Regions from separate parts of the Homo sapiens genome. Here all the other regions are linked to region 3. The links are contacts of gene promoters, found by promoter capture Hi-C in blood cells and fetal thymus (Javierre and others, 2016). All regions are on one chromosome and are shown on one strand. The core of a region is centred on a gene start or on the middle of the fragment in contact, and the rest is flanking DNA. Distances in the headings are between cores, read along the strand shown. Region 1 holds the start of TUT7 (terminal uridylyl transferase 7). Region 2 overlaps TUT7 (terminal uridylyl transferase 7). Region 3 holds the start of KIF27 (kinesin family member 27). Region 4 holds the start of ISCA1 (iron-sulfur cluster assembly 1).

Region 1 (5,637 bases), core at 1,894-4,393, 2.4 Mb after region 3:
CATTTTGGGAGGCCGAGGCAGGTGGATCACCTGAGGTCGGGAGTTCGAGACCATCCTGGCCAACATGGTGAAACCCTGTCTCTACTAAAAATACAAAAATTAGCTGGGCGTGGTGGCAGGCACCTGTAATCCCAGCTACTCGGGAGGCTGAGGCAGGAGAATTGCTTGAACTCGGGAGGCAGAGGTTGCAGTGAACCGAGATCATGCCATTGCACTCCAGCCTGGGCGACAAGAGTGAAACTCCATCTCAAAAAAAAAAAAGAAAAAAGAAAAATTCTCATAATTACTTGGAGGAAGACTACCTGGCTTACCTCAGATTTATTGTAATAAGAGTTCTCTATATTCGGCATTCCAAGTTTCCCATATTTTATTTGCATATGGTTCACAAAGGACATGTGTATTTGAGTGGATGCTTTCCAGCTAAGATCATTAATGGCAATGTCCCAAATACATTAAACTGGCAATCTAGGACATTTGAAGGCTAAAGTAGGGGCAGTAATGTAGAGCTGAAAAAAACAGAAGGTAGTACCGTATGTGGGGGGGAAAAAAGCAACTCCACCATAATTTCCATTATATCTTCTCACATTGTTGAATAATACCCTTCCTTATTAAGACACAATTTTGATAAAGAAATTTCGATCTCTTTAATGAGATCCTTTTTAGTTTATACTTTCAGTTGAATCTCTCTAAACTAAATAATGTTATACCGAAGCTTAATGCTTCCTATATGAAGATTTTCAAGGGATAGAAACTGAATAATTCTTTACTTAATAACTGTGAAAGCATATACCTGTATGTCATACAGCAAAAACATGCAAACTTTTGAATTACCTCCAATAAAAAAATAGCAAAATGCATTTCCTATTCAAATACACTTAAAAGCAACTTCTTTAGTTGCTTTTATAAGAATACACATAAAATAAGAAAACATATAAAAGTTTTTGTGGTCAGCCAACAGTTCCTTTTAATGTCTAGTTGCAAATTTTTGATCTATAAACTTTCTTTTTAAAATGCTTTTCAGCCGGGTGCAGTGGCTCACACCTGTAATCCCAACACTTTGGGACGTCAAGGCAGGCAGATCATGAGGTCAGGGTATCGAGACTACCCCTGGCCAACATGCTAAAACCCCAACTCTACTAAAAATACAAAAATTAGCTAGGTGTGGTGGCACGTGCCTGTAGTCCCAGCCACTCAGGAGGCTGAGGCAAGAGAATTGCTTGAACCTGGGAGATGGAGGTTGCAGTGAACCAAGATCGCACCACTGCACTCCAGCCTGGGCTACAGAGCGAGACTCCATCTCAAAAAAGAGAATAATAATAATAAAATGAAATGGTTTTCAAGATCAACTTCTACAAGACTATAGGTAACAAAATTAAATACCCACATCCCACCTGGACAGTAATACAGAAACACTTAAATATACACAATTTTTAATAAAGAAAAACACAAATCAAAAGCCCAGAAATTATCAAGAAATATTCGGCTCCGCCGTCAGGATTTCAGGTCCAGCGAGGCTGAGTTAATGGCCAGAGTAGCAGAGTCCCCAATTTTAGTTCTACTTCCTCATTTACCGCGCTGCATAAACAGGTCTGTGGAAATTTAACCTCTCTGAGCTGCAGCTGCCTGATTTGTAAAACTGTGATTCCATTTTTGATATATTACAACAGAGTACTGCATCAGATAATTCCTCAAGCTATTTCTAGCTTAAAGATTTAAGTTTTATGTCTCCCTACTACTTAACGCCTTTATAACACTTCATTCTGTTTCTGCTACTTGATATTAATATATACTCTTAATTTTCAAATTTAAAAATATCTGAGGGCCAGGCGCGGTAGTTCACGCCTGTAATCCCAGCACTTTGGGAAGCAGAGGCAGGTCGATCACTTGAGGTCAGGAGTTCAAGACCAGCCTGGCCAACAGGGAGAAACCCTATCTCTATTAAAAAACAGAAAAATTAGCTGGGCATGGTGGTGTGCACCTGTAGTCCCAGCTACTTGGGAGGCTGAGACATGAGAACCGCTTGATCCTGGGAGGCAGAGGCCACAGTGAGAGGAGGTCACATCACTGCACCTCCAGCCTGGGTGACACAGTGAGACTGTCTCAAAAAAAAAAAAAAAAAATCAGGCTGAATGTGGTGGCTCACGCCTGTAATCCCAGCACTTTGGGAGGCCAAGGTGGGTGGATCACTGGAGGTTAGGAGTTTGAGACCAGTCAGGCCAACATGGTGAAACCCTGTCTCTATTAAAAATACAAAAATTAGCCTGATGTGGTGGCATGTGCCTGTAGTCCCAGCTACTTTGGGGGATGAGACAGGAGAATCGCTTGAACCCAGGAGGCAGAGGTTGCAGTGAGCCAAGATCGCGCCACTGTACTCCAGCCTGGGTGACAGAGCGAGACTCCGTCTCAAAAAATAAAATAAAATATAAATAAACAGATCTGACAACTAGAAGTATCTGTGAAAAAAGAAAAAAAATCAAGTAGCACATTTCCCCCCATTTAATATTAATAAGTGCTTGAGACTTTCATTTTTATCCTAAGACCTTGTAAAGATAAAAGACGACCTTTTGGCTTTTAAGTATTCTATACGCATGGGACACAAATTCAAACACCTTATAGGTAACCAGTGTATGAACTGGCCACTGTGAGATAACATGAAGAGAAAAGGCATCGGGTGATCTAGAAAGTGTCCATATTCCCTGAATGCATTTAAACTAAAAAAATTTATTTAAAAGTGCTGGCCAGTTTGAAACACATTCTATACAACCACTAAAAAACGCTTTCAGCCACTAAACTTACAAGTCCATGTTTCCAACTGTGATATTGTTTCATTTTTTCCATCCAATTTGTGACTTTATTTCATTTCGGTATATATCTCCCATTAGATAAAAATAACCTTCCTGTTTGCAGAAATCGTTGCCACATGGATAAAATCTACTTTTTACTTTTAGAAAAACATATTATCTCCTTATTATCCCTTTGGGGCAATTAACCAAGCATGTGAGGGCACCGAGAAATTAGTTTTGGTCTTACTGAAACCAAACAGCAAAGCTTGAATCTATTTCTGACTTTCTAAACTTGTTTCTCAACCTGTTTGTCACGATCCCTTTTGAAAAACAAAGATCTCAGATTATCCATCTCGGGACACTGACACTACATCCAAAAGATATATCTCTTGTGGCAGGAGATATACGCAGTGTATACTGTGTTTTTACATCAACAAATAAGTTTTTTTTTTAAAAAAAGCTTTATATTCTGTCATTTATATTATGAACACATTAATTATTCAAATACAAAATTATAATCACAATTTTGAAAACACACAAACCACTGAGCAATTACGATATGGTCCCCTGGAGCATATAGCTACCCTCTTCTGTAAAAAACACGTTACAGAAAACATGTTTACTGACGTAAAGTGAGCCCTGGGGCAAAGTAAACTTTTAAAGGGATCAACATATGAAATGTGTTTTAGCTGCTCAAATATCATGATTACTATCCTTAAAATAATCACACTAAGTGACCATTTCTTAAAACAGAAACTGTGAAAAACTGAAACTAAATTGCTGAAAATAACAAAACTCATTTGGATGAAAAAGAATAAAACATTGCTGACTCTGGGGTTGTGATCTGACAAGTTGGAAAACATTACCAGGACTTCCTGCTTCCATTTCTGACGTGGTTTCTAGGCTTGTTAGGTCTTTATGAAACAGTCGTCTTACAGTTCTGCAGCCTCTTGTGTCTTGCCACCTATAACCATCTTCATTTTCTTGAAAGGAGTCTTTTCTTTGTCGGTTTATAACAGGAATTCTAGGTCCAGGTTTGAATTCTCTCCAGTTGTCTGAATTACCAGTATGTTCATCAGACAGCCATCTCTTACTCTGATCTTTGTGGCTGTCATTCATCCAAGCGGGTTGACTGTAGATTGGGTTTTTAAATGCATATGGATTGCTGGAAACAGCACATGGTCCTTTTCTGGGGGTATTCCCATAGTTCCCTGGTGTTATCTTCTTTTTTTGAAGGCCCTTTTCCATTTTACTGCCATGGCCTTTAGCATGGTCATCTATTATTAAATAATCTTGTTGGGGGTGACCCCTTCTGAAGTCATCATCATCCATAGTCCCCCGGTCTTTAGTGCGCTTCACGAAATAAGGTTTTGCTGTATCTCCCATGGTCTTTGACTTCAATTTTCTTACTTTGCACCTGAAAGAAGGTATTTTGGGGAAATATCAAACTATATAACAAGATATCATACAAGTATACAAAATAACAATTTATCGTACAGATGCCCCAAAGCCTGTAAGAAAGAAACTCCCTATTTTTTTAAAATAAAAATTCTATCACATTCTTAATAATCAGTGCTTTACCCTAGAGGTTGGGAGGCTTGGTCCTCTAATATTCTTCATGAAAATTAATACTTACTATTTAGCATGAAGATTAAATGTGTGAATAAGAGAAGCTCTATAGGTTCCAGAACTGTAGCATAGTAGAATATTACTCATATCAAGTATGGTCGGCTTTTCCCTCTGTAACAAGGCGTTTCTCTTCAAAGAAAACCTCATCCCAAGCCAATATTATTACTAAACTACCGAAACAGTCTTTTGTTTTTTAAGTTGGCAATTACTTGTAAGTGTTATACACCGAAACTTTACGTGAAAGGAGTACTACATTTCTCAACTCCAATTTTCCGTCCCTTCACCACCCCTATTCTGGACAGACCGGCTTTGAGCGCTTAGGTTACGGAGGGGCTGGGCTTCCGACCAAGGTGCAGCTGTAATTAAAGAGGCTGGGTTTCCGATCAAGGGACAACTCCATCTAACCTCCTCAATCCCCGTTCTCCAACCCCAAACAAGTTTGGTTTTGTCAGGAACAGCAATTCCCTGAGGAATGACACTCCTCTTCAATCCCCATCTGACCGCTCCACCACCGATCTGCCTTAGTTTCCACCCTTTTGAGCCCGACGTGGAGAAAGAGGAGGCGTCCCTGCACTCCTGGCCAAGAAGCCACCGTGGGGACCAGGAAGCAGGAAGTGACCTGCTGTCTCCATGGGGTTCCAGGGTTCCCCCGGCCGGCCAGGGGGCCAGAGCCGAATGTCTTGACCCAAATCCCGTCTTCTGCGCCCGCAGTCTGACAAAAAGTGAAAACACGGACTCGAACCCGAGGGCTCAGCCTCTGCCGGCCTGGGGGTTCCTCGGTCACCCAAACTGGTGCGAGGAGGCCGGCGGGGGATGGAACCAACGTACCTCCGGGGCCAGGCCGGACAGCTACTCTGGAGTCCAGGAAACCAACTGGAGAATCAGCCCGGAGGCGAGTCTGGCAGGGACGTTGGGAGAAGGCGCCCAAGAGCACTCACCACCTTCGCCGCGGTCCCCAGCCTCTTCCTGTCCCGGCCGGGCTCCCTCTCCGTGTTTTCCTTCGGCCCCACTTCCGGCGCTCAGCGCTGTCTCATTGTGCGCGATTGGGAGCCGACTGTGCCCCCGCCCTAGCGCTCCGCCGCGCACACCGGAAACGAGCGACGCGCCCCGCCCCGCGGTGCCCCGCCCACGCTCCGACCCCGCCTCCCGCGCCTTTGCCAGCCTGGCCTCTCCTGTCCGGCGCCCCAGCGCACTCGCTCCAGGTGTCGGGCGCCGGGTCTGGCCA
Region 2 (5,764 bases), core at 258-2,757, 2.4 Mb after region 3:
GGGGAGAGGCTGGATAGCTATTTGTTGAAAGAATGAATAAATGAAGTAGCTGAGAGGTAACAGTGGAGTTCAGGCTAGAGATTAGTTTTTTTCCTTACTTTGTGTGTGGCAAATACTCTCCAGGAGGAGAAAACACTGCTGGCAAGACAGCAGCAACAAAAAGCACGGGACTGGAACAAATAATTGAAGACTCTGGTTGCCACTCATGGGTGGTATAAACATCACTTGGAATTTACAAAACACACAGGCCCATGCTTAACCACTGAAGAATTAGCTTTAGGAAATAAAGGTAGAGGATGGGCAACTATATGTTTTAAAGTTCCCCCAAGTGATTCTGATGTCCAATCCCTGTTAAAAGCACATATTTGGAGAAAAAGTCTCAAAAGGCATGTGGTAAAGTATGCAGTAAATAAAATAACACACATTTGTTTTTTTTAAAACCCACATACCTGACTGGGGACTCAAAAATATTGTTGTTTTTTGTTTCTTTTTGTCTTCATGTAAAAGCACTGCCTAAAAAATGAAATAGACTGGTTTACAAAATCGAAAGGAAGAGCATCTGAAACAGCCTTAAAACCGAAACCATATCCAAGGAGAGCTGAAATAAGGCATGTGGGTGGCAGAATTTTGCAAGTTAACTGAAAAGCAAGACCATGGGCAGGAGTTCTGAAACAAGGCCCCGCCATCCGGTGCCCAGTAAGCCTCACCACGCACCACACCCGCGCAGGACAGACAGGAGTGCTGCAGGTCAGCCAGAGGAAGGAGGGCCCGCACTGCCAGCACAGCGCAAGGACATGGTGCAGAGCTGAGAGCACTCAGGGAGCAGCTCCTGAGTGAACAGATGACAGACACGCCTCCTTCTCCGTTTGAGCTAGGTTTACCTGAACAAATAAACCAGTTGGTTTCAATGGGACAGGTGAGGGCGATCCAAACATACAATCTGATTTAGACATTCCTAAAAAAGAAATTAGCACTTTTTGTTCCTACTTTAAATTGAAAGCAGTAGCCCTGTTTTCAAACTTTCACAGAGAGACTGTCTGTTGGTGTGACAGAAGCTCCACTCAGTATATTGTGTGGACAAAGGAGCAATATATCTGAAGAAACAAGAGAGAGCAGCATAATTTTGAGAGAGGAAGAAGCAGCTGATTATTTTTGAACTGCCACCAAAGGAAATTCCCTGTATCTATCCCCATGCCTCCACTGTCATTTCACTTTTAAAATATGATGACTACTAACTTTAATGTGTCAAGACTGCATTCTGAAGGGACCACATTTCTAGATAAGTGCTCTTCCTTATGCTTGATAATTCCCCTGCCACCCGGACTACCCGCCCCGCATCTTTTTGAGTTGCTGCTGTCCCCACAGGCTGCCAAAATCATTGGTCTAACTGTTGTGAGAGCTTCCCTAGTACACAACTTAAAACTTGCTGCTAGCGAGAAAAAAGAAATTCATCAAAGCTGGGGCAAATTCTCCACTTTGTTGTACCAAAGAGGAAGACTGTAATAATGTTTCAGTCATGAGTAATCAACACAGGCCTCGAGTAATTTTAGGAATAATTTTGGGAATACTATTTAAAAGTTATCTATACTATTTACAGTTTCCTTACCTGTAAAACAGCAGATATTAATGTATTTAATGAAGCTGTTGTAAAAATTAAATGAAATTATCCATGTAAAGTACTTAAAATAGTGCCTAACTCATAGTGAATGCTCAATGAATGTTAGCAACTATTATTATTGTAATTTCTTTTAAATACATTTTCCTCTTAAAACAACAAAAGAAAATCACTTTATTCTGGTATATGTCCCATGTGAGCAGCTAAAGCTGTATCTTTCATAAACATTTAAACCCTACTCTAAAAATAATAGATAAAAATTTTTAAGTATTTTGATCTTTTCATATAAAGCTCCTTTAAAAAAGAATGGGTATGATCTAAAAATCTCCTGTCTTAAAAAAAGATACACTATATTGCTGAATATGATAAAATAAAATAGAAGAGAGGTATTCTTGTTCCAAGAACTATACACATGGAGTATTTTAGGGAAACTGTAAAGCAGCTGACACTTTATGCTGTCCACAAACATATATATACAACTGAGGATAGCGACAGGATTGACTACTTTAATTAGAAAAAAATTACTTCCAAATATTTCTTTTCTATGCTTATCAAATTTCATCACTTGCACAGTTCTGAGAAGTGAGAATGTAAATTGCTTTGTAAATCATTACTTATTATACACACACAAGGTACCCTTATAGTTAGTAGTCTGTTTAAAAGGTGCCCACAATAGACATTTCACCCATTTAGCAAAAATGGCCAATTTGTATTTAACAACTCAAAGGGGCCAGATTTGTGGATGGTGTTGTTAATGACTGCTAATAGATATTTTCTTCGTCATAAGAATAATCATGCTCACTTGTAGAAAATCAAAATGACAAAATCTACAGAAAAAAATCTTCCATAATTCCCCTCTGCAGATTCACCCACTGCTAACTATGCAGCCTATTTCTTTCTGTTCCCTTTTCTATGCATGTGCCTGTGTGTGGCTCACCTGTGCACAGAGCATGGTGTCCTGAGATAACTCTGGCTACCGCCACCCCTGTGATTTGATTTCACAAGTACATATATCAAGTAGCAAAGCTCAAGTTGCAGCTTCTTTTCTGGTCACTGAGGCTACATGTGCAGGTACCAGGGATGATTACACTTTCACCTCACTGATAATCTTAGAAAAGTTCACCAAATGACTCTCATAAGACTCTAAATAAAGCCAGGAATAAGATATATGGAGGATCAACATTAAAGGAGGGGGAAGGGATTTTACTTTCTTAAAAACAAGATCTTTTTTGAGTAAATATATTGATAAAGAAATAAAGATAACTAAAATAGTAAAGAGCTCTAAAAAGCAGATTTCCCTTGAGATGTTAGAGCAAACATCAAGGTGTGATAGGTGTCCATACCTGAAGAGCCTTTAAACTGTGGGCATTCCTTTTTAATGTGCCCTTCTCTTCCACAAATAAAACAACGTTTTTCTCTTAAGTCTTTGTCATCCTGTCTCTTCCATTTTTCTACTGGTGGCCTGAGGATCTTCTCCCTCCCCAGGTCAGCAGCTGCCCGCATTGGCTTGGCTTTCTGAGGTGTGCACTGTATGGGCTTATCTTCTTTTGTTGACACCTCCCTTTCTGTGTACTTGTTGTGAATTTCTTTGTCCTCTTTGCTTCTTTTTTCCTTGTTCTCAGGGTATCTTTGGTTCAGGGCATCTTCCTGATCTCGCCGCCGTCTTACTCTGTAGAAGATATCATATTAGTAGCAAAAATCTAAACAGAAGCCTAACAAAATATTAAGGCAATTCCCAAAATATTAAGGCAATTCTAGATTTAAGAGATGACCAGGAATAGAAAGTATTAAAAGGAAAAGCAAGAACCTAAATGAAAATCCATCTTCTCTGTTAAGATGCTCCCTCAGGGTTTAAGGGTGCAGTTTTTCTTCTTCATTTTCAAAGTTGCTCTAGTGCTGTAAAACCAATGACTGCAATTAGTGGCACTCCTTGGCTGAATGCCTACTTTGACACTGATGTAATGAAAGGCAAATCATCCATGGAGTGATTTCTTGAACGGCCTTTCTGGCACATTAGCATTCTTTCTTTACTTGGCACTGGAAATTTTAGATGTGAAGGCTTAAATTCACAAAGGAACAATGGTTTTAAGATTTATGCTCTTAAAATGTCAAAATCATTTCTCCCTTATCCTAATAATCACTGATTTTTGAGTAATGAAAAAAAGGACTGAAAAACAAAGCTTCTCAAATTCCAGATGGTAACCTAATTTGAGCACCATGTTTTAAAATATTGCTGTACAGTTAAAAACACCACCACTACCACCCAAAACAACGTATCCCAAGGCAAGCAAGCAAAAACATGTCTCTCTTGCCCCCCAATAAACGCCACCAGAAGAAAGCATGGGGACTAAACTGCATGGCTTACCTACTCACAACAATTATTAAGGGTTAAGTGGAATACAAACAAAGAGTGCTAAAATCCAGTGAACTGTTTGTGAATATATATCCCAACGTGCTGAACAGTTACTGTGCATTAGAGATGTAACTGAGATCCTGAAGGAACTCATTTGACTGTTTACTGACTGAAATGATTCTGAACTTCTCACTACTGTAAAAAGGAAGAATTTTTGTTTCCTCTTTTCACCATGTTGGCAAGGCTGGTCTTGAACTCCTGGCCTCAAGTGATCCGCCTGCCTTGGCCTCCCAAAGTGCTGGGATTACAGGCATGAGCTACTACACCTGGGCTTTTTTTTTTTTTTTCTGAGACAGAATCTTGCTCTTTTGCCCAGGCTGGAGTGCAATGGCGTGATTTGGGCTCACTGCAATCTCTGCCTCCCGGGTTCAAGCGATTCTGCAGCCTCAGCCTCCCAAGTAGCTGGGACTACAGGTGCCCGCCACCATGCTTGGCTAATTTTTAGTAGAGATGAGGTTTCACCATGTGGGTCAGGCTGGTCTTGAACTCCTGACCTCAGGTGATCCACTCGCCTTGGCCTCCCAAAGTGCTGGGATTACAGGCGTGAACCACTGCACCCGGCCTAAAGTCATGTTTTAAATCACTTCATTTCATTAAAAAATAAAATAAAAAACTTAAATGTATCTGAAAACTGCTGGATTTTACACAAGTGTATTTTCTTTGTTATAATAGTACCTCATTTAAAAATTGGGACATTAAGAAAATAAAAACACAACCAACCCCTTTGAACATTTACTTACTTTCTCCTCATAGGACAGTCCTTCATGAAGTGTCCGATTTTTCCACAAATTCGACAACATCTATCATTTGGGGCCAGCTCTCCTTCAGTTAACACATCTGGATCAAAAAAGTATTCCTAGAAGAACATAAATATATAAAAGCCTGAACTATTCACGTGAGATCGGAACACAAAACTAACCAGATATTAAACAGTTATCTTACAATTCAATGTTGATATAACATTACTTTTAATAAATATTATTTATACTGCTTAATTCCAAACAAAATCTAAGACCATCAAGGTCTAACTCAGGATAGTTTTAACTAAATCCATTTTTGTTTATTCCTTTTAGTCATGCAGAGCACTCGTGAGCCCTAACCCTAAAGGTTTAAGCACACTTCTAAAGAAGCGGATGAGTCAGCTTTTCAGGATGTGGGAGGGAGTTGAGGCCAGGTACACAGGCTTTGTCTCCTCATCAAATGAAAAGGCTAAAACATAATGAATTGAGAAACATGATTTGCATCATACAGATTATATTGAAGAAAAGAAAAAAAACTATGTGTTTCTACTTTGCTTAGTTGTGGCTGCTGAAGGAAAAATAACAGAACAAAGGAAAGATAATGGTCTAGCCTGTAGCCTCTTTGTACTAAAATTAAGGTGGAGGCCAGCAACATGAGCATCCCCAGGGAGCTTGCTGGAAAAGCAGTCTTGAGCCTGATCCTAGACCTGCTGAATCAGAATCTGCACTTTAACAAAATCCTCAGGTGATTTGTTCGAACAAGTTTCAGAAGCACTGGTGTAGAAGCCACATCAATATCTACCATAAATCAGATGTACAGATGTAATCAAACACTGAATGTGCCTATAAAGCAATACACTTACGTTAAATTTTAAAAGTCTTCACTGGGAGTACAGAGGGAATAGGGGGTTGCTGGTCAAAGGGTACAAAGTTTCAGATAGACAGGAGGAATAAGTTTTGAGATCTATTGCGCAGCAGGGTGACTATAGTCAATAA
Region 3 (5,177 bases), core at 2,432-4,931:
ATAATGAAGTTGGACTCCCTACCTCATATCATATACAAAAGTTAACCAAAAATGGACCATAGACCTAAACATAAGAAGTAAAACTACAAAACTCTTAAAAGACAGGAGTAACTCTTTATGACCTTGGATTTGGCAATAATTTCTCAGATATGACACCAAAAGCAATAAAATAAAAAATACCAATTTGAACATTATACATTGTATACATGTACTGAAAAATCACACTGTACCCCATAAATATGTACAATGATTTTGTCAAACAAAAATAATAATAAAAGCAAAAAATAAAGATGAAGTATAGATTAAAAAATAAGTAAGACCCAGCCTGGGCAATATAGTGAGACGCCATGTCTACAAAGAAATTTTTTTTTTCAATCAGCTCAGCATGGTAGTACGCACCTGTGGTCTCAGCTACTTGGGAAGCTAAGGCGGGAGATTGGCTTGAACCCAGCAGCCAGAGGTTACAGTGAGCTGTATCTGCACCACTGCACTATAACGTGGACAACACTATAATGTGGACAGCAGAGCAAGAACTTGTCTCAAAGAGAGAGAGAAAGAGAGAACGAGAGAAATGGGGGGGGGGCAGGACAGGGAGGGAGAGGAGGGAGGGAGGGAAGGAAAAACGACATCAAAATTAAAAACTTTGTGCCTCGAAGGAAACTACCAAGAAAGTGAAAAGACAACTCACTGAATGGGAGAAAATATTTGCAAGACATATATCTAACAAGGAACTTGCAACTAGAATATATAAATATTATAACTCAAAAAGTTTTTTAAAAATTTTAAATAGGCAAAGCATCCGAAAAGGCAGTTCTTCAAAGAAGATATACAAATGAATAATGAGCACATGAAAAGATGCTCACCATCATTAGCTATCAGGAAAATGCAATCAAAATCACAATGAGAGGCCAGGTGCACAGTGGTTCATGCCTGTAATCCCAGAATTTTAGGAGACTGAGGTGGGAGGATGACCTGAGGTCAGGAGTTCAAGACCAGCCTGGACAACATGGTGTAACCCCATTGCTACCTAAAATACAAAAATTAGCCAGGCGCAGTGGCTCAAACCTGTAATCCCAGCATTTTGGGAGGCCGAGGTGGGAGGATCACCTGAGGTCAGGAGTTCGAGACCAGCCTGAACAACATGGTGAAACCCCGTCCTTACTAAAAATACAAAAATTAGACGGGCATGGTGGTGGGCGCCTATAATCCCAGCTACTAGGGAAGCTGAGGCAGGAGAATCGCTTGAACCCAGGAGGCAGAGGTTGCAGTGAGCTGAGATCGAACCACTGCACTCCATCCTGGGCGATACACCAAGACTGTCTCAAACAAACAAACAAACAAACAACAACCACAATGAGATACCAATCCACATCCACTAGCACTGCTATAATAAAAAAGACAGATCATAAGTGTTGGCAGGGTATAAAGAAATTAGAACCCTCATACACTATTTGTGGGAAGGTAAAATGGTATAGCCACTTTGGAAAACAGACTGACATTTCTGCAAAAAGTTAAACATACAGTTATCTCTTGACCCAGCAATTCCACTCCATCAAATGATCCAGCAATTCCACTCCCAAGAGAAATGAAAACATTGTGTTCGCATAAAAACTTACATACAAATGTTCAGTTTTGGAAGGATAAAGCTTATACAAAATTTAACAAGTAATCTATGACAATGTTTGAGTGCAGATGATGAAAAGTAATGAATTTGAGGTGAGGTTAGGTTCTTTGGAAAAGCTGCTGAGTCTTGAAGATTACCATTAAGTAACACAGACAACTAGACTGAAATAATATTTTATTAATAACACTAACAACAATGAATTGATAATATTCACTACCCTTGAAAAAAAAAAAACCATGGCCCAGCACGGTGGTTCACATCTGTAATCCCAGCACTTTGGGAGGCCAGGGCGGGTGGATCACTTGAGCCCAGGAGTTCGAGACCAGCCTGGGCAACATGGAGAAACCCTGTCTCTACTAAAAATACAAAAATTAGGCAGGCATGGTGGCGTGCGCCTGTAATCCCAGCTACTCAGAAGGCTGAAGCGAGAGGATCCCTCCTGAAAACAAAACAAAACAAATGTGAGCCACGATGCCCAGCCTCATTTCTTGGGGTTTTTAATGGTAATATCTATAAAGAATTTGGTTATAAAGGCAACTGAAACTTATTCTAAGCATTAAAAAAAATAATAATGGGGCCGGGCACAGTGGTTCACACCTGTAATCCCAGCACTTTGGGAGGCCAAGGCAGGTGGATCGCTTCAGCCCACGAGTTCCAGACCAGCCTGGGCAACATGGTGAAACCCTGTCTCTACTAAAAATACAAGAATGTGCCAGGCTGTGGTGACGCACCTGTAGTCCCAGCTACTTGGGAGGCTGAGATTGGAGGATCGCTTGAGCCCGGGAGGTTGAGGCTGCAGTGTGCCACTGCACTCCAGCCTGAGTAACAGAGCGAGACCCTGTCTCAAAACAAAACAAACAAACAATAGTAATGGTCCACAAACATAGGGCTTGTAAAACATCAATATACAAGAAATAAAGTTTTTACACAATCCATAGCACTTATACTTCAGATTCTGATCAATTATAGTCATCAGAAACATACGTATTATGTTGCCAATAAATGATTTAAAAAAAAGCAAAATCTGATTGGTCGTATTTAAGTATACTCAACGGGTTTTTGAAATCTGAGCAAAGGCAAGAGAAATATTGAATCCCTCATGTCATGTCACTGGTCAGGAATGAGTGTCTCCAAAAACCGTTGCCATCCCGTACCCTTGATTTCCCAGAAAGCAGTGGTTGTCTTAAATGTGTGGTTTGTTAATTATTTTCATAAAAAACTTGCCAGTAGATGGACAGTAAATCGCATACGGAGCTCAGAAAAGGCCCCAAATGCGTAAAGACGACAAAAGAGTAAAGAAGGGCAAACAACAAGGATTTTCAACACTGGAGACTTAAAAGGTGTTACTTAAAAGGTGTTTCAAAGAAAGAATCTGGGCGCTTTGCTCTTTATAGTCACCTGCCTCCGAGGGAGGGAGCTCTCGGGCTTGAATGTGCCCAAGGTTCAACCTCTACGGTAGGAAATGCGCCCAAGTTTCAACCTCTACGGTGGGAAATGCGCCCAAGTTTCAACCTCTACGGTGGGAAATGCGCCCAAGTTTCAACCTCTACGGTGGGAAAAAGACGCCTGCGATAAAACAAAGCGCTCGGTGGTGGTGGCCCTCGCGTCGCACCTCACGCCGTGCAGCGACACGAGACGAACACAGGGTGCGCTCTGAAAGGCCGGGTCCCGCGTTCCGGTCGATCGGTGTTCCCCGGGACCCGCTCCTCAGGGCTGACCCAACTTCCTCCGGAAGGGGCGCTCTGCCTCTAGTCGCTCGCCGGCTCCCAGCCCCGACCCCAGACCCCTCGGACGCCCCCATAGGCCTAGCTGGCGCCCCAACCGCCCACCCTCCGCTACCCACCCGCGGCGGCCCCGACCCCAAGCCGGAGCCTACTAGTCCCAACGGCCGGCTGGGGGCGCGGGAGCGGCGGGCGCGGCGGGCTGGAGGGCGGGCACCGCGAAGGGAGGGCGCCCCACTTCCCCGCACCGCCCGCCAGGCCCGCCGAGCACTGACCGGCTCGGGACAGCCCAGGCCCCTGTCGGCGAGCGCTGGACTCCTCAGCTTCGCTCTGCCACACCGCGCAGCCGCCGTCCGCGTCTTTTGTTGTCGCGAGTTCTCCTGGCAACCGGCGAAGCCCGCCTCCCGCCGCGTCCTCTCCTGGATGCCGCGTCCTGGCCCCGCCCCCATCCTGGCCACGCCTCCAAGCCCGCCGCGCAGGAGTCCTGCGTCCCCAGGAAGTCCGCAAAGGGCCGGCCCCTGGGCTTGCCTGCAAATCCGAGTTGTGTCCCACCAACGCGCTGGGACCGGTCTGTGAGGCCTGAGCGCAAGCATCTTTCTACGGGTTCGTGAAATGAGTGAGAACGATTCCACACCGTGTTTCAATATCTTAGCTACCAATTCAGTTTATTTTTATTTTTATTGAGTAAAACTTGCCTAACATAAACCATCTTAAAACTCACAATTCAGTGGCGTTTAATGCATTCACAGTGTTGTGCAACCATCACCTCTGTATATAGTTCAGAAACATTTTCATAACCCCAAAAGAAAATCCCCAAACCAGTTAGCAGTCATTCCTTCTGGTTCCCCTCTCCCCACAACCCCAGCCAGCCACTAATCTACTTTCTGACTCTGTGATAGCTTTACCTATTCTGGGCATTTCTTTATTGATGGAATCATTCAGTATATGACCTTTTGTGTCTAGCTTCTTTTGCTTAATGTTTTCAAGATGCAGTCATGTTGTAACATCTATCAGGACTTCTTTTCTTTTTTTTCTTTTCTTTTTTTTGAGACCGAGTCGCGCTCTGTCGCCCAAGCTGGAGTGCAGTGGCGTGATCTCGGCTCTCTGCAACCTCCACCTCCCGGGTTCAAGCGATTCTCCTGCCTTAGCCTCCCGAGTAGCTGGGATTACAGGCGCGTGCCACCACGCCCGGCTAATTTTTTGTATTTTTAGTAGAGACGGGGTTTGTTTCACTGTGTTAGCCAGGATGGTCTTGATCTCCTGACCTCGTGATCTGCCCGCCTCGGCCTTCCAAAGTGCTGGGATTACAGGCGTGAGCCACCACGCCCGGCCCTTTAGATGGAGTTTCGCTCTTATTGCCCAGGCTGGAATGCAATGGCGCCATCTAGGCTCAACGCAACCTCCACCTCATGGGTTCAAGCGATTCTCCTGCCTCAGCCTCCGGAGTAGCTGGGATTACAGGCATGAGCCACCCTGCCCGGCCCTATCAGGACTTTTTAGGGCTGAAAAAATTCCATTGTATGGATATAGACATACCACATTTTGTTTATCCATTCTTCAGCTGGTGGTGGACATTTGGGCTGTTTCCATGCTGCTATGGACATTCACATACAATATTTGGATGTCTGTTTTCAGTTCCTTTTTTTTTTTTGAGATGGAGTCTCGCTCTGTTGCCCAGGCTGGAGTGCAGTGGCGCTATCTCAACTCACTGCAAGCTCCGCCTCATGGGTTCAAGCAATTCTCCTGCCTCAGCCTCTGGAGTAGCTGGGATTACAGGCATGTGCCACCACCACGCCTGGCTAAGTTTTCTGTATTTTTAGTAGAGACGGGGT
Region 4 (5,667 bases), core at 1,168-3,667, 2.4 Mb after region 3:
GGGAAGATGTAGATAATCTGATAATGACAGCATTGAACTGTGTTATATTATCAGTTACTTTTCCTAGCCTTTTGTTGACATCTGGTAGACTCCACACATATAGCACTTTTCAAATGTTGCAACATGTCAAATTCCTAACATCAAAATTTATATATCCAGGTAACATTTATCCCTTCCAATCAGTTTTACTGAATTAGGTATACTTGTGTTTGCTCTTATCTGTCTCTACTTATTAGACCCAAGTAACATTTACCTCTTCCAATCAGTTTTACTGAATTACGTATACTTTTGTTTGCTCTCTTATCTGTCTCCATTCATTAGGCCTTTGACGGCATCACTACTTTTGCACTTGACGATACATGCTGATGATAAACTAAGCACAAAGAGCAATACATGCCATAGTGTCCTGACTAGGGCACGAATGCTGGAACTAAAATGACTGCAAGCCCACCAACACAGGCTGTGTGGAAAACAGCATTGATGTGCCTTCTCTCTGGTACAGCTTCTGAGAAGCTTCTAAAGTCAGCCATACTTAAGTAGGACAACAGAGTACAGACAGTAGACTCCTGCAAGTTAATCAAAACAGCTGAGTCAGGCAACATGGATACCTTGAGAACTGCTATGATAACATGTACTGAAGCAGAGGGGAGCAAGTGTGGAGAGAGACCAAGCCTGAGAATGTGCAGTGCTATTACTCCTAGTAAGAGGTGGCAAAGGCTTGGCCTGCGACTGTGCCCCGTAGGCTGGGAACTGTATAACTCATTCATTTGTCTTGAAACACAGCAGATCTTGATAAATGTCTGCTGAATGACTAGGAATGGAGAGAAAGGGACTGACATAGAAATTCTGAAGGAAGGGCAAGGCACGGTGGCTCATGCCTGTGATCCCAGCACTTTGGGAGGCTGAGACGAGTGGATCACGAGGTCAGGAGTCCAAGACCAGCCTGGTGAAGATGGTGAAACCCCATCTCTACTAAAAATACAAAAATAAATAAATAAATAAGCTGGGCATGGTGGTGGGCGTCTGTAATCCCAGCTACTCAGGAGGCTGAGGCAGAGAGTTGCTTGAACTCAGTAGGCAGAGGCTGCAGTGAGCTGAGATCACGCCACTGCACTCCAGCCTGGGCAACCCAGCGAAACCCTGTCTCAAAAAAAAAAAAAAAAAAAAGAAATTCTGAAGGAAGAGGTAACATGTCAAATGGTGATGGAGAAAGACATCAGGGACCAGGCATGGTGGCTCACACCTGTAATCCCTGCACACTGGGAGCCTGAGGCAGTGGACTGCTTGAGCCCAGGAGTTCGAGACCAGCCTGGGCAACCCAGGGAGACCCTAGGTGCATGCATGACGGTGCACACCGGTGGTCCCAGCGACTTGGGAGCCTGAGGTGGGAGGATCGCTTGGGCCCAGGAGGTTGACGCTGCAGTGTGCCATGATTGCACCACTGAACTACAGCCTGGGAGATAGAGTGAGACCCTGTCTCCAAAAACAAAACAAACAAAAACAAACAAACAAACAAAAAACAAAAAACAAAAAACCCAGTTAATAGGGTTGCTAAAAAGCAAAAAAGAAAAGGCAAAAACTGTTCCTGAACCTTCTGGCTCTTCCTGGATCTACCATTACCAGTGGAAGAATTCTGAATAATTCTTACTGAGATTGAAAGAGACACAAAGAATGAGTTGTGCCCTCTAGTTCTTAAAACCTTGTTTAATTCTACATCCCACGGTGTATGAAAATAAGCTTGCTCCTACAGAAAAGAGGTAATATAGAATGATACATAATCAGTACACTAGTAGTACCATATATAATCAGGGTAATATCAAAGGCCTAAAAAATTGATTATAAAAATAAATTCTCTCACCTGATCACAATTTTCTTCTACTTTGCTACAAACTTATTTTCTGGTAATAGGCCCTTTTGGCATTAGATGCAACAGAATCGATGAGTCAATTTAAATCGTTTTTTTTCCCAGTCTCTAAGCGAATGGTTGCATAAAGTCGTCTCCTTCACTAAAAGGGGAGTGTATGTAGGAACGTGATCATAAATTTTTCTTTTGGGGTGAAAGTATTTTGGAACTAGATAGAGGTGATGGTTGCACGACACTGTGAATGTCTTAAATGGCACTGAATTGTACCCTTTAAAAGGACTAATTTTATGTTATGTGGATTTTCCTTCCACTAAAAAACTGAACGGTGCGGCCGGAACACTGAGCTCAGTGAATTCTCTAAGTAATCAATGGTTGCACTCTGGTGCCCTCTGAGTGTTTGACCTTTCACCCAGAAAAGGCTGTAAACTCACTCTGGGAAATCATCTTTTGTCCTAAGAGCCTAGGCTTGCTAGAGGCACAGAGGGAGTTTCAAAGGCCTCAATCACCCAGGACACCGGCAAGTAACGCTTTGCGCGCCGCGGCCGTGACCTCGGCAGGAGCCGGGGGCTTTGTTGTCGCTGTGCTCGCCCTCTGCGAACGCTGTCGCCCCGACACAGCGGTCCTTCGGACAGCCTGGTCCCTCCCCACCCCACGCACCTCCAGGCTAGGACTCCGGGCCACCACCGGGAACCCCCGCCACCGGGCACGTTCAGCCTCTGCTTAACCGGAACGGCCGAACAGCGCAGGCCGGCAGGAGTGTGGAGGCGATCGGCCCCCGGGGACGCCCACCCCCGGGATCCCCTCCGGCCCGCACGCGGTTGCCGCGCGGCCTGACGGGAAACGTAGTTTCCGGGGCCAAGAGAGCAGCCCCGCCCGGGACTTGTTTATCGTTGCAAAGAGGGGCCGGAGGCGAAGGAGGCGGCGAGGCTGTGCGGCGGGTCGGAGCGACGCCGAGGTCTGACGTGTCCGCGTCCCTGCGGCCCCACTCCCGGCCGCCGTGACCTCCCCTTGCACGGGGCGGACACGAGCAATGTCACGGGCCCCGCCGCGCGCCGCGAGCACTCACCAGGGTGAGGGCTGCCCGGGTGGGCTGCAGCTTCCTCTTGCTCACAGCCCGGACAGTTGCCCGGACTAAGGAAGCCGACATCTTCGCCGTCCCGGCGCCCCGGTGCCTCGGGCCGAAGGTCGGCCGCCTCAGCTTCTCTCCATGGACACGGCGGGCGCATTGACGCCACAAGCTTCGGCGCACGGCGCCCTCAGTCCTAGCCCCGCCCCCCGCCGCCACCATTGGGTGAGTTGCATGAGTGACGAGCCGGGGGCGGGGCAAGCCGCTCGGGGCGGGGTTTTGCCGCTCAACGCCGGGGGTCTAGCAGCTGGGTTGCGCACGGTCTCCGGCAGTGGGGTTACCACGCTGCAGGGCGCAGGGCCCGGGAGGAATGTCTTCACCGCCGAGGACGGAGTCGGCGTGACGTCGGGGAGCGGGCGGGAGGGGGCGAGGAATGACCTCAGACCTGCTGACTCCGGATGCACGTAGCTTCACCACCTGCCCCCGGGGCAAGGTGCAGCGTCACCCCCTGCTTTAATACTCACCGTGACAAACACCATCATAGGCGGTGACACTTAAGGACGCATAAGTCAACCCTGCACTGGGAGCTTATGCTCTCAAATGCAGAGTGATCGTTCCGATGCCCAGACATCTACATCCATTTTCATTCTTCTTTTGTGGTCCAATTAGGCTGTTCTTAAGAGCATGGCGTTACCGCAGAGTTGTATAATCGCCACCCTCCACCCTTCTCCCCAGCGTGCTGTACTGCTGGGGATGCTGAAGGGTGGTGACTAATGCAGTTTTCATTCTGGTGCTGAACTGGGAACCAACCCTACTTGAAAATGTGACTGGGCAGCAGTGTGAATAGTCACATTTATAGCGAGCAACAATTACTCGATTTAAAACGTGTTGTCAGACCTTGTCCTGGCTGCTCAGGGGCTTAATTCTGCCTTTTGATGCAGTATTCCTGAGCACCAGACACTGCACAGGCGCGGTACCCAGGCATACACAGGAAGCCAGGTAAAGAGGGGCCAGGGAAGAATGAGATACTGGCAGGACAGGGCTAGCAGATGAAGAGAGGAGGACATCAAGACAGGTGGCATTTGTCATTGAAGTGCTAGAAGTGAAGGAAAAAGGGCAGGAGGGGTCTATGAAGCAGTCCTGGGGAGGACAGATTCGCAGTGTTTGAATGTGGGAAGAACTAATCAGTGAAACATTTTTTAAAGCCAAGTTTATCTTCGATCTCCTGCAGTTTCTGAAAGGATAGTTCAAAATTCCATCAAGTAGTTCTGACTTCCTGCTACAGAAATGCAATCGCATTGACAATAAGAGGACGCTTTTTTTTTTCCCCTAAGCCTTATCTGCACATAAACTGGGGGCCGGGCGCGTGGCTCACGCCTGTAATCCCAGCACTTTGGGAGGCCGAGGCGGGGAGATCACCTGAGGTCAGGAGTTCGAGACCAGGTTGGCCAACATGGTGAGACCCCATCTCTGCTAAAAATACAAAAATTAGCCGGGTGTGGTGGTGCACACCTGTTATCCTAGCTACTCAGGAGGCTGAGGCAGGAGAATCGCTTGAACCTGGGAGGCGGAGGTTGCAGTGAGCTGAGATCGTGCCACTGCACTCCCAGCCTGGGCAACGGAGTGAGACTCTGTCTCAAAAAAAAAAAGAAAGAACGGAAGATAGGAAGAGAGAGACAGACAGACAGATAGAAAGAAGAAAGAAAGAGAGAGAAAGAAAGAAAATAAAAGAAACTGGGGGCCGGGCGCAGTGGCTCACACGTGTAATCCCAGCACTTTGGGAGGCCGGAGGCCGGCAGATTACTTGAGATAAGGAGTTCTAGACCAGCCTGGCCAACATGGTGAAACCCCGTCTCTACTAAAAATACAAAAATTAGCCGGGCGTGTTTGCGGGCACCTGTAATCCCAGCTACCCAGGAGGCGGAGGTTGCAGTGAGCCAAGATTGCGCCACTGCACCCCAGCCTGGGTGACAGAGCGAGACTGCATCTCGAAAGAAAGAAACTGAAAAAGTGATGGGAGGGAGGAAGGGAGGGAGGGAGGGACATAGAGAGGTGGTGGTGTGGTGGGTTTGTTTCTTGGCCTTCATCTTTGACTACCTGGGGGTTTGGGATCTCATATCCTCCCTCCTACAGATATTGTGAAGATTAAATGAGTTAATACAGGAGAAGCCCTTAGAGGGGTGCAAGGCACACAGCCTCACTCAAATGGTAATTGTTAATGAGTATTTAAAGATGCCATGTATTGTGAAACTACTATAATGGTGGATAGATATCATTATGCGTTTGTCAAAACCCACACAATGTACACCACCAAGAGTGAACCCTAAGGTAAACTATGGGCACTGAGAGCTAATGATGTGTCCATGTAGGTTTAAGATTGTAACAAGTGTACCACTGTGGTGCAGAGTGACAGTGAGGCACATGTGGAAACAAGGGATATATGCAGTTCTGTTTTTCTGCTTAACTTTGCTGTGAACCTAAAACAGCCCTAAAATTAAAATTTAATAAAAATAAAAGATGCTGTCATTTTTTTTTCAGTTATTGACACATTACACAGTTGTGCAGCACTTTACAAGATTCAGAAAACTCCATGAGCATATTATATTATCTCATACTAGCCTCACAACTTTGAACTGAGTAGGGCAGAAGCACTGGCATGGCAGTTTTACAGATGCTGAAACTCAAGGATTTTAGTAGAGAGCATTAGACACTATTGAAAACATCTAGTCCTCAATTT

Evidence for each region. The method cuts DNA at HindIII sites, captures the fragments that hold promoters and counts their contacts. A CHiCAGO score of 5 or more calls a contact.
Region 1: a contact is called between a fragment that was not itself captured here and the fragment with the promoter of KIF27 in region 3, in 3 of 17 cell types (total B cells, activated CD4 T cells and non-activated CD4 T cells). The highest score is 8.5, in total B cells.
Region 2: a fragment that was not itself captured here is called in contact with the fragment with the promoter of KIF27 in region 3 in 1 of 17 cell types (neutrophils); the score reaches 9.0 in neutrophils.
Region 4: a fragment that was not itself captured here is called in contact with the fragment with the promoter of KIF27 in region 3 in 5 of 17 cell types (total B cells, non-activated CD4 T cells, naive B cells and 2 more); the score reaches 8.3 in total B cells.

The regions. Positions count from the first base shown.
Region 1 is chr9:86,349,031-86,354,667 of GRCh38, forward strand. It overlaps TUT7 (terminal uridylyl transferase 7), which reads right to left and starts at 5,380. Exons shown (of 27, transcript NM_024617.4): 1 at 5,241-5,380; 2 at 3,650-4,200. The coding sequence starts at 4,169. RefSeq lists an enhancer at 5,229-5,438 and a silencer at 5,459-5,637. The HindIII fragment of the contact is 195 bases long and covers 3,047-3,241 here.
Region 2 is chr9:86,298,318-86,304,081 of GRCh38, forward strand. It overlaps TUT7 (terminal uridylyl transferase 7), which reads right to left. Exons shown (of 27, transcript NM_024617.4): 25 at 4,769-4,884; 26 at 2,959-3,284. Among named protein-coding and RNA genes, the nearest start is that of ISCA1, 19 kb to the left of the region's middle. The HindIII fragment of the contact is 4,572 bases long and covers 1-3,793 here.
Region 3 is chr9:83,917,751-83,922,927 of GRCh38, forward strand. It overlaps KIF27 (kinesin family member 27), which reads right to left and starts at 3,682. Exons shown (of 18, transcript NM_017576.4): 1 at 3,621-3,682. It overlaps LOC105376335 (serine/arginine repetitive matrix protein 1-like), which reads left to right and starts at 3,151. Exons shown (of 3, transcript XM_011519284.2): 1 at 3,151-3,511; 2 at 3,604-3,948. The coding sequence starts at 3,151. RefSeq lists enhancers at 3,214-3,963, 4,578-5,082 and silencers at 3,285-3,664, 3,695-3,844. The HindIII fragment of the contact is 5,103 bases long and covers 1,645-5,177 here.
Region 4 is chr9:86,279,448-86,285,114 of GRCh38, forward strand. It overlaps ISCA1 (iron-sulfur cluster assembly 1), which reads right to left and starts at 3,091. Exons shown (of 4, transcript NM_030940.4): 1 at 2,931-3,091. The coding sequence starts at 3,011. It overlaps LOC124902194 (a long non-coding RNA gene), which reads right to left and starts at 2,634. Exons shown (of 2, transcript XR_007061634.1): 1 at 2,522-2,634; 2 at 1-2,006. RefSeq lists a silencer at 2,472-2,771 and enhancers at 2,942-3,091, 3,212-3,491. The HindIII fragment of the contact is 1,365 bases long and covers 1,736-3,100 here.